3 separate regions of the Homo sapiens genome follow, and regions 2 and 3 are each linked to region 1. The links are contacts of gene promoters, found by promoter capture Hi-C in human tissues and cell types (Jung and others, 2019). All regions are on one chromosome and are shown on one strand. Each heading gives the region's core, a stretch centred on a gene start or on the middle of the fragment in contact. The rest is flanking DNA. Distances are from core to core; before and after follow the strand shown.

Region 1 (3,762 bases), core at 798-3,297:
GTACTGAAAGTTTTTTTTTTCTTTTTCTTTTTTTTTTCCTCCCTCCACCCTTGCGCAACAACAGCAGTCCTCCAAAGAGAATGTTTGAATTGAATTATATGAAGCCCTCCTTTCTTCAAATGAAGTCACGGACTCTGATGGCACTGGCTTGTCAGGCAGGACGACCGGACTGGGAAAGAGACCAGGTAGAAACTAGTGACCTAGTGACGGGTGAGGGGCGCCAAGTGGTGCGGACCACAGTCTCAACCCCCGTTCCCTCTCGGTGGGAGTCAAGGGGGAAAAGCCCTTGAATCCCGAGACGGGGGGATGGGGCGACGCTGCAGCTGGAGTACTTTTATGTCTGGGAGCTAAAAGGGCTTTTGAATTTAAAAAAACATTGCTTGGGTTGTCGCGTCAGCCATCAATGACGACAAGAATAGTTATTTCCCAGAAATTAAAAAAAAAAAAAAGGAAAAGAAAAGCGTGAACAATAGGTTCTTACCTCCATGTATCCCAAGAAAAGGAAATGTTGTAGAGACCAGGAACTTGTCCTTAATTTGAGGGCGGGGGGCGGATGTTCAGAGAAAACCCTCAGTGGGTGTTAAAAATTACCGATACATGCAGGTTTGGCATTTAATGAATATCGTGCTTTCCTCATTATGTGTCAATTGTGAAGTAAAAGTAAAGATTAAAATGTTTCTCAACACAACTATACGGAAGAGGAGGTGATAATCTTGTCAGTTAAGTCCATAGAAATGTTCATAAAAGCAAAAGGCACTGACCATATTAACATGCCTATTAAACACAAGGGTTGGGGGCAGACAAGTATGAAGAGTGAGGCAATTAAATTTTTCATGTAAAGTCTATTCTTGAATTTCAATTTATCAGAACCAAGATAATCAGGGGTTTCTTCTGATTGCTCCTCTCTGAAATGAGTACTCTGTGTCCAATTAACTGTTCACCAGCTAATTCACAAAATCAGAAATGTACTGACAAATACTATGCCTGAATTAAAATACAATGCCTAAAATAACGTGCTTATGTGTGATTTGAAATATTTTAAGAAAAAAAAATGGTGCCCTCAAAACTCACAGTCCTCTTCCTACCATTCAGTGGCATTTTAGTGCTTAAGGTCTTGCTAAATTCATAAAAATACACTTTGCAACAAAGTCTTCCTTCAGTCATGTAATTGCTTATCATGAACAAATGCTGACCTGAACAACCTTCTGAATATCCGACTAGCGAACTTTCCAGACCTTGCAATTGTCAGAAGGTCTCTTTTAAGCTCTCTCTTAGATAAACCTATAAAATGTGACATTTCAAATGGCACAGGAATGTGTGCCAAGAAGGGTTAATGGGGGTGGGGGCGATTAATGTCCGTGTAACCCATAATATAAATGAGGACAAATATTTTAAAAATAAAGAAGGTAAAAGATATTGGGGTAATACATGGGATATTGGGGTAATACATTACATGGGTTATGTCTTAGCAGTGCAGTTGCCACTAACATACTAATTAATAAATATGGCCATATGGATCTTTCAGTTCTGAAAGTAACAAAAATGTGAAAAATGAAATACTTCAACAAAACAGAGCTTATTAAAAATAGCAATAGTTAAGTTTCTAGTAACAGATAAAGAGAATAACTTACCAGAGGAAATTTCAGGAAGCAAGAAGACTGTGAGAAAAATACATCCAGGATTCAAATAGATATTCCATGATCTTCCAAATCAAGGTAAAGTAGTGAGCTGCAGGGTAGTAGGACTTTAAAATAATCAGCAGTTCCTGGTGGCATGTAACCAAGTAAAAACCAGTTACACAGAGAGCCACGAACCCCCAAGGCAAGAAAGCAGAATGTGAAAATGCTTTATATGGGGGGGTGGGGAATGGTGGGGGGTGATTCGTGGTGATCCTTAAGCAAAGTGAAAATTTACAGGCTGCACATCCCCATACAGTGGGGAAAGGCAGAAGCTGTGTAACCCCAGAGAACAGGAGGTGGAATACAGATAAATCTGCAAAGAGAAGTAAAAGGATGTGTTGAAGACAACGAGATAAAGAGAGAACTAGTGAGCAAGGCTGTAGTCATCCTGATAGATATAGCAGCAAGAATGATTTAGGCTGCTGGGGAGGATCCAATGAGAATTCAAGAGGGCACCACTTCGGAAATCCTGCTCTGATCTTCCCACTCTCAGTTCTTTAAGAGTTACCTGCGTTGGGACCATTATCATTAGGATTAATAGTATTCCATCAGTGCATTTCACTAGTATTTCCCTTGAACATTTTCACTTGCAGCAACTGAGGGAGGCGTAGTAAGGAAGCCCAACACAACCAATTCCCCCACTCCCCAAATAAACCACTACGACCGGTCACATTACGATGACCAAATCATCAGCGATTTGCACGAGGCGGTGGGGGGTGGGGGGTGCGGGCGGTGATCGAAGGGCTGAAGATGCGGAGGAGGCCGAGTCGCTAGGCGCTTTCGGGGGCGCTGTGCCGGTGAGGCTTAGGCAAGGGGACGGGGAACCGTGGTTAGATGCAGCAGCGGCGGCAGCAGCCCTCCCAGGTCCCACTTCTTTGGCGTTCCTGCTGCCTGTGACTCAAGACAATTGACTTCCACCTGAACCCTCAGCTCCGAACGCCTTGCATTAGAAGCTAGAGCTTTGGAGGTTCTGAGGACGGTCCCTGGGGAGCAAGTGGTAGGTTTCGAGGCGCCCGCTTCCCCTCTGATTCCTGCAGTAACTGAGAGAGAGTGTGCCAGAAATGGCTTTGCTGCCGAATGCATTATCTTGCCATTTTCGTGTCCCAATACTGAACAAACGATCGCCTGATCGATCGGTAAGATTAGCTTTATTCCTTCTCCCTATTCCTCTCCTTGGCCCCATTCCCTCTGCAAGTCCAAACCCCAGTCTCTCTCTCTCTCTCTCTCTCCCTCCCTCTCTCTCTCTCTCTCTCTCTCTCCAGGAACTTCTTCCTCTTTGAAACCGGTTTCCCAAGGGAACTGCCTGTGTGACTGAGAGGCTAGTAATCTGTTTGTAGATGATTTATATTTTGGCTGCAGAATGAATCCCCCTCCCTACTCGGAGTACTCTCCTTAGAGATGATCCCCCGCCCCCTCCCCATGGGTTCGCTCTCAGAGCTGGGATCTGTATAAAGAGCGCTGTGGGAGTCTTTTGCCCTCCGCTCTAGCTCTATCTTCCTCCGGACCCCGAAGCTTAAGAATTATCCGCCTCACTCTCTTTTTTAGAAATAGGAGGGAAAGGTAGAGTGGAAATTGATTTCTTGCAGAGACTGAGGCGCTGAATGATAGAGGGAATAAACATTTGCCCTGGATAAAAATGTTCTTGGTAAGTAATCTTATTTTCTGCGGTTGAAAAAGAAACAGATTGCTTCTCACTGCCCCATCCCCCACTCCATTCATTTATTTGCTCTCTGTATGTAAATCACGAGCTGGGTCAGTGGAAATTTTTTTTTCCTCTTCCCTAGGAGAGTAGTAGCTTGTAAGGGTGAAATTGAAGTAGAGGGTTTTAAGGAGACAATATGAACGCTTTAAGGTCCTTTATATCCTGCATTAAAAACTCAAAGACAGATAAAGCAGTTAAATCCCTGTTTGTTTCCAAAAGTGGTATTTAAGTATTTCCCTTATTTCCTACTAACTGTCTTTCCTTTCTGAAAATAAAGAAAAGAGTTTTAGGTAGTGGGCTCATGTCTATGCTTTTAGTATGTCTTGGCCATGTTCTGAAATACAATTTCAGTTCCAAAATTAAGAATGGTTATTTTTCACA
Region 2 (3,762 bases), core at 862-3,361, 1.8 Mb after region 1:
TAATCTTAAGCGATAATAAATATTATGGATATGTATAACTCATCTGAGAAATTTGAGAAACAGACTATTTTCAGCTGTGATTGTTTCATACTTATAATAGCTCATGCTTATTACATGACTTATCTGCCATCTAAAAGTAAATGCTGCTACTTATAAACTAGAGACAAGTTAATCAATGGCAATGTTGCCATTCCCCAATCACCCACTGGCAATTACATGTCATCAAGTCACATTTGCTTTTGGCTGGTCTATAGAATGTCAAAGGAAAGGAAAAGGATATTTTAAAGGTTAGTGTTATATCATGCCAAAGGACATACTGGAAGTCTTTCTTCTGTTTGAAAAATATAACCAGAGGTTATGGCAATGTTATTGTTTCTATTGCCATTTATTCTACTTTGTTATTTGATCTGATTAGGGGGAGAAAAAGGAAGTAGGTCATGTCTGTTGCCATTTTGCTCTAAAGACAAGCCGTAGTGGGAAATAATTAGATGTAGCATATCAGCACAGTCACCTAAAACAAAAAAATAATTCTGCAATTTCTACATTATCTTTGTGATTTGAAAAATCCTGATCCTCACACCCTGAAGGTAGCTGTTAGGCAGTTTTCTGCCTTAAATGGCAGAACACATCAACCAAAACTGACTTAAACTATAAGAAATGTTGGAGTTTTATTTCATGTAAAAATAAGTCAAGGGGTGGGATGAGCCCCAGGCCTCAATGCTCTCGTTTCTCTTTCTCTGATATTCCCTAGTGTCTGTGCTCTGCTTGGGGATAGTTTAAGAACTTCTTGTAGGAAGATGATGGAATGTAGTAGTTACATTTGTTTCACAACCAAACGCAGCAAATCCAGAAACAGAAAAATAGCATTTACTCTTGTGCTTCTGTCTTAGAATGAAATAAACTTTTCCTCACTGCTTGGGATAGATGTCCACTGGTAAGGAGAATGAGATTACCATAATTCATTTAAAGTCTTAAGCAATTTTCAAAATTTAAGATCTAATCTTGAAACTACAGATGAGTTAACTTTGTCATATAAGAAGTAGAATTTTTTTGTTTTTTTTTTTTTTTTTAGAAAATCAAGGCTCTGTTAGAAAGAAACATGGGTTGGGTAGATAGCTAACCACAGTATTTGCTACATTGAACATATTTTCACTGCCATGAAAAAAATACCAAAATTTGTTAGATAATAGTTTACTGATTTTATACATTAATTATATTATAAGTATATAAATATGTAGGTAAAAATGTTTACATGGTCACCTTTGTTTAAAATAATGAAAAGATCTGCATTTCCAACTGATTTTTGTATCACTTCCTGGAGAAATCACACAATCACCTTGCTTAGAAGCCAGAGTTTTCCATGAGAAATAGGATGGTGGGGCTCAGGCCATAGCTCTCTGAGTGACTTCCATGTCTGAACTAGCAACTGTATGACAAAATCAGACTGATAGTTTCCAAAGTGCTTTGTTCAGACCAGCAATATCAGCATCACCTAAGAACTTTTTGAACACACAGACTCTTGGACCCCGCCCAAACCTACTGAATCAGAAACTCTGGGTGTGAGGACTTGTAAGTCCTCCAGGTGATTCTGACCATGTTAACATTTTAAAACTCTTTTTAATTTTTGTGGGTACATAGTGGGTGGATATATTCATGGGGTATATGATATATTGGGGTACAGCCATGCAATGCACAATATTATCATAGAAAATTGGGCATCCATCCCCTCAAGCACATATCCTTTGTGTTACAACAATCCAATTATCCTTTCAGTTATCTTAAAATGTACAAATAAATTATTATTGACTGTAGTCCCCTTGTTCTGCTATCAAATACTAGGTTTTATTCTTTATGTCTATTTTTTGTACCAATTAACCATCCCCACCTTCCCTGCCTCTGCCACCACCCTTCCCAGCCCCTGGTAGTCATTCTTCTATTCTCTATCTCCATGAATTCATTTGTCTTGATTTTTAGACCCCACAAGTAAGCCGGAACATGTAACGTTTGTCTTTCTGAACCTGGCTGATTTCACTTAACATAATGACCCCCAGTTCTGTCCATGTTGTTGCAAATGAAAGAATCTCTTTTTTATGGCTGAAGAGTACTCCATTGTGCATTAGTGCCACATTTTCTTTATCCATTCATCTGTTGATGGACACTTAGGTTTCAGACCACATTAACCTTTGAAAACCACTGGAAGCAGCTCTGTTGTCAATTTTTCATTTTACCAATTGTGCCAGTTTATTTAAATCTTCTCACCCCACTACAGCTCCATAGTTCTAGTGTTTTCATTCCGGTTTTTTTCCTTTTTTTTTTTTTTTTTTTTTTGAGACGGAGTCTCGCTCTGTAGCCCAGGCTGGCGTGCAGTGGCGCGATCTCGTCTCACTGCAAGCTCCGCCGGCCGGGTTCACGCCATTCTCCTGCCTCAGCCTCCTGAGTAGCTGGGACTACAGACGCCCGCCACCACGCCCGGCTAATTTTTTTGGATTTGTAGTAGAGATGGGGTTTCACCTTGTTAGCCAGGATGGTCTCGATCTCCTGACCTCGTGATCCACCCGCCTCGGCCTCCCAAAGTGCTGGGATTACAGGCTTGAGCCACCGCGCCCGGCCTGCTTTTTTTTTCTTACTCTGCTACATACGGTAAAATTAAAACCATTTCTCTCACCCACTGCCCTGTCCAATACAGTAGCAGCAGCCACATGTAACTATTGAAATTGAAATTAATTGAGCTTTAAAAATTGAGGCATGCTAGCCACATTTCAAATACTCAATAGTCACATATGGCAAATGGTTACCATATTGAACGGCATAGATATATAGAGCATTTTTATCATTGTAGAAAATTCTACTGGACAGGGCTGAACTAGAGCATCACAAATTCAAGTTTTTTTACAAAACACTTTTAAGTAACATGCACTAAACATTTTTTACATATAAAAGTGGCGTCAATCTAGAATATATTGAATTGCTGGAAGAAGAGTTATTCACCTTTAATTCTCTTGTATAAGTTTGTGGTTTTCAATCTTGGAAATATGCCAGACAATATATTCTGAAGACAAAAATGACAAAATTGCTTTTTTGAAGACACATAGCTTCTGGCCAAATATAACAAATATTCTTTTCAATGAATAACTGAGCTTGGAAAAAAAGATGGGCAGGTGAGAACTCCAAGGTACATGAAGCTTTGCCAATCTTGGAAACTGGGCGGCTAATTTTTTTTTTTTTTTTTTTTTTTTGGCAGGGGGAGGGATGGATTTTCACTCTTGTTGCCCAGGCTGAAGTGCAATGGCGTGATGTCCGCTCACTACAACCTCTGCCTCCCGAGTTCAAGTGATTCTCCTGCCTCAGCCTCCCGAGTACCTGGGATTACAGGCATGCACCACCACCACGCCCGGATAATTTTGTATTTTTAGTGGAGACGGAGTTTCTTCATGTTGGACAGGCTGGTCTCGAACTCCTGACTTCAAGTGATCTGCCTGCCTCAGCCTCCCAAAATGCTGGGGTTACAGGCGTGAGCCACTGCACCCAGCCACAGGAGGCTAATTATTTTAAGGTCAGTTCAATAACAGGAGACAAAGATTTTGGTGTGAAATAGAAATTAGATCTCTAAATAAATATGAGACAATTGAAGTCTCCTCACTCAGTGAAAGGGTGGGCTAGAAAAGACACTGATGCAGGAAAAAAATAAATAAAATAGTGTGAGTGGAAAAAGTTCCTGAGGATTTGAGCCACAGGTCTAACCTACCAAGGGTCAGCAGTTCA
Region 3 (3,762 bases), core at 352-2,851, 1.0 Mb before region 1:
GGGACATGGATGAAACTGGAAACCATCATTCTCAGCAAACTAACACATGAACAGAAAATCAAACACCGCATGTTTTCCCTCATAAGTGGGAGTTGAAGAATGAGAACACATGGACACAGAGAGGGGAACATCACACACTAGGGCCTGTCAGGGGGTGTGGGTCTAGGGGAGGGATAGCATTTGCAGAAATACCTAATGTAGACGACAGGTTGATGGGTGCAGCAAACCACCATGGCACGTGTATATATGTAACAAACCTGCACATTCTCCACATGTATCCCAGAACTTAAAGTATAATTTTAAAAAGCCATCTTTAGAAGAACTTATGAATGGTAATATTATCAGAAGATAAGCCTAAAAAGCTTAAATGTCTTAAATTCATTTTTAGTTGTATTGTATGTTATATACTCTGGGGAAAGAAGGATGGAGATCATGTAAAATGGACTAACGATTTTCCTTCTCTGCCTCAAACACTTTTTGTCAGCATTATCACAATAAGTATAGTTAGTTGTATGTTGTGCTAAACACATTAAAGTCTTCTTATTAATACCCATTTTAACCTTATGTGGTAGGTTTTATTGTCAGTATAAATCTAGGTTAAACTTTTTAACCAGAGTAGATGATGGTTTCAGGGCCAACACTAGTCTGTTGTCCTCCTAAGCCCTCTTGAATATTATAGTATATTCTTCCCATGGGAGTCCAAGAAAAGCCTGGAAAAAACAAGGGATCAAGGGAATGGAGGAAGATGTTTTGTGGGAAGAAGATATATGAGTTGTACTTGAGTATAAATCATGCATAGTGGTGTGCTATGAAGTCTCTCCACACATGACCGAGTTTACCTCATAGAGCCTTCAACAAAATTTCATATCTGATTTTCTTTGAAGTAGTCTGAGTATTAAAGAAAAGAATGGAAATTTGATCCAGGGTTAATTGCAGAGATAACCAGAGATGGCTATAAAAATACTATAACTATTTTTAAGCTAGACAGCTATTTGTCTTTTAATATAAACTCAGTAATTGATATGCCTAAACATTCTGTCCAATATCAGTGAATATTTTTCTGACTTATGATTTATTATTTTAACTGACAGATAAAATTCTATACATTATATGTCTTAAATTATATATACATGTGGAATGACTGAATCTAGCTAATAGAAATATGCATTACCTCACATACTTGTCATTTATGTGGTGAGAACACAAGTGTTTTAAATATGTTTGCCAAATTTCAGTTAAAAAACAGAATTAAATTTAAAATGCCTATAATTCACAATGTGGCCATAAAAATTAATCGGATCAAATGGATCAAAGCCATTCAAATATATCCTTATTAACTGTTCTTGATATGGTAAAATGTAGCTCATATTGTTTCAGAATTTGATTTTTTAGATGTGGTTATAATTCTGCCATACAAAGAAAGCTGCATGGTTGAGAGAGATTTCAATTCCAAACTTGCAGTACAAAAACAACACTGCCACTTACCAGCCCTGCCACAACTTGCAAATCACTTAAGCTTTCTGAGCTCCATTATATTCATCTAGGAAGTAGGATCAATGCACAAAATATTTTCAGTGAATGCAGAGTAGGAGATGACAAAAAGAGCCATGCTCTAATTCCACTCCACATGAACACTTAAGATATTTCTCTCCAGAAATCACCTGTAGACAATAGAAAAATAAATTCATACCCACTTAGTTAACTGTGTGAGAATGTAAATTTAAAGCATTTTTGACTAGGGAAACTTTATCATAATAAAATGCTTTAATTTCCCTGCGCATGAAATATTTCCCCCAAGGAATGTATCTATTAATGGCATGCTATGATTAATTAATTGGTTCTGGGAACTATTATACCATATTAGTCACTTTCACATTAGTGTTCCCAAGAGTGGTGAATAAATAAGACAGTCACTGCACTTCTACATGTCCATTTTCTGCCAAGACGTTTTGCTGATGTGCAGTTTCTGTGCAGTTTCCCACAGTGTACTTCTCGGCTGACTTAGTTCAAGCTTTGTTAGTTTAATGCTTAGAAAAGCCTCATGTTCTTGCAGAAAATCTTTTGCTCTCATTACTTTTTTGTGATATTATGGACAACAATTTCCCTAGGGAGCATGGCAATTGATCCCAGCAGGATTATTTACGGTGACATGGTGGCACTGTTGCCAATGGGGGCATTGTCAAAGGGTAGGCTCCTTCAATGTCAATTTTAACCCAGCAGCAAATTCTGCAGTACTAAATAATTCTGTCTATTTTCTTTCTAGTCAGGTAACTGCTGTCAAATTAAAGAGGTCTTCAAAACTCACAGCACAGTTTTGCTTTTTCATTACTACATCTGCAATTTGATTGGTGTTATATATTTTCTTGCATGAATGAACATCAATTAAAGGAGATGAACATTTATAGGAAATTTATTCAACTAGAGAGGGTTGCAATTTTTACATGTCAACCATCTGAATTCATATTGCAGTGATATTTTTGGAAAACAAGAACTTGTAGATTAAATAAGTTTTATTAGTATTTCAAATAAAATAAAATAATTTTCTTAAAATATTAAAGCAAAATCACTGATATATGCCTATTAAAATATTAAATTAAGTAAATATGGTATTACTACTAAAATAACTTACATTTCTGACACGTCACTTACATTTTAATTCAGCCTTCCTAATAATCCAACTATATACCACATATTGTTATGATGAGGTAACTAATCCTCAGAGATACAGATAACCTTTTCGAATTAGTGTATATATTAAGTTTATGATGGAAGTTTTTGACACTACATTTAACATTTTTTTTCTATGCTACGTTGGTCCTTTCCCTTCAAAAGCTCTTGAAGAACATTGAAAGAAGGCAACGGCCTTCATCTGCATTTCAACCATCAAAGCAACCATCACCCTTGTTCACATACCTATCGTGAGACAAAAAGAAATACTTACATTAATTTCTAACATCATCTCACAGAGTTAATATTTTATTTGTGAACATTTTACATCCACTGTCAGCATTTTTCAAGAACACAATATATTGGTAACTAAAGTCACCATGTTGTACCATAGATCTCTTAAAATTTTATTCCTCCTATCTAACTGTAGTTTTCTATCCTTTGATGAACATCTTTCAAATCTCATTTCCAACCACTCCAACCTCTGGTAATTACCCTTCTACTGTCTACTTATATAAGTTAAACTCTTTTAGATTCCACATATGACAGAGTTTATGTGGTATTTGTCTTCCTGTGGCTGGATTTTTGACTTAACGTAATGTCTTCCAAGTTCACACTTGTCACAAATGCCAGAATTTCCTTCTTTTCTGTGGTTGAATAGTATTCCATTGTGTATATATGTCATGTTTTCTTTATCCATTAACCTGTTCATGGACACAGGTTGACTCCAGATCTTGGCTACTGTGAATAGTGCTACAATAAACATGGGAGTGTGGATATCTCTTCAATACACTGGTTTTGTACTCTCTCTCTCTCTCTCTCTCTCTCTCTCTATATATATATATATATATATATATATATATCACACACTCAGTAGTGAGATTGCTGGATCATATGATAGTTCAATTTTAAATTTGTGAGAAAACTTTATACTGTTTCCACAAAGGCGGGACTAATTTACATTCCTACCAACAGTGTGCTAGTTCCTTTTTCTCCATACCCTAACCAACAATTTTTTTGGATTTTTTATAATAACCATTCTAACAGATATGAAGTGATAGCTCATTGTGGCTTTAATATGAATTTCCATGATGA

What was found. Contacts are between HindIII fragments. The study calls those that stand out against the background at their distance.
Region 2: a contact is called between a fragment that was not itself captured here and the fragment with the promoter of BRINP3 in region 1, in 1 of the 25 tissues and cell types used here (dorsolateral prefrontal cortex).
Region 3: a contact is called between a fragment that was not itself captured here and the fragment with the promoter of BRINP3 in region 1, in 1 of the 25 tissues and cell types used here (dorsolateral prefrontal cortex).

Annotation. Positions count from the first base shown.
Region 1 is chr1:190,475,817-190,479,578 of GRCh38, forward strand. BRINP3 (BMP/retinoic acid inducible neural specific 3) reads right to left here and starts at 2,048. Exons shown (of 8, transcript NM_199051.3): 1 at 1,632-2,048. It overlaps BRINP3-DT (BRINP3 divergent transcript), which reads left to right and starts at 2,444. Exons shown (of 3, transcript NR_110716.1): 1 at 2,444-2,676; 2 at 3,266-3,324. The HindIII fragment of the contact is 15,526 bases long and covers 1-3,762 here.
Region 2 is chr1:192,290,891-192,294,652 of GRCh38, forward strand. No RefSeq gene overlaps it. Among named protein-coding and RNA genes, the nearest start is that of RGS21, 24 kb to the right of the region's middle. The HindIII fragment of the contact is 3,430 bases long and covers 397-3,762 here.
Region 3 is chr1:189,461,411-189,465,172 of GRCh38, forward strand. The region is part of intron 3 of LOC105371657 (a long non-coding RNA gene); the gene reads left to right. Among named protein-coding and RNA genes, the nearest start is that of LINC01701, 310 kb to the right of the region's middle. The HindIII fragment of the contact is 3,303 bases long and covers 1-3,253 here.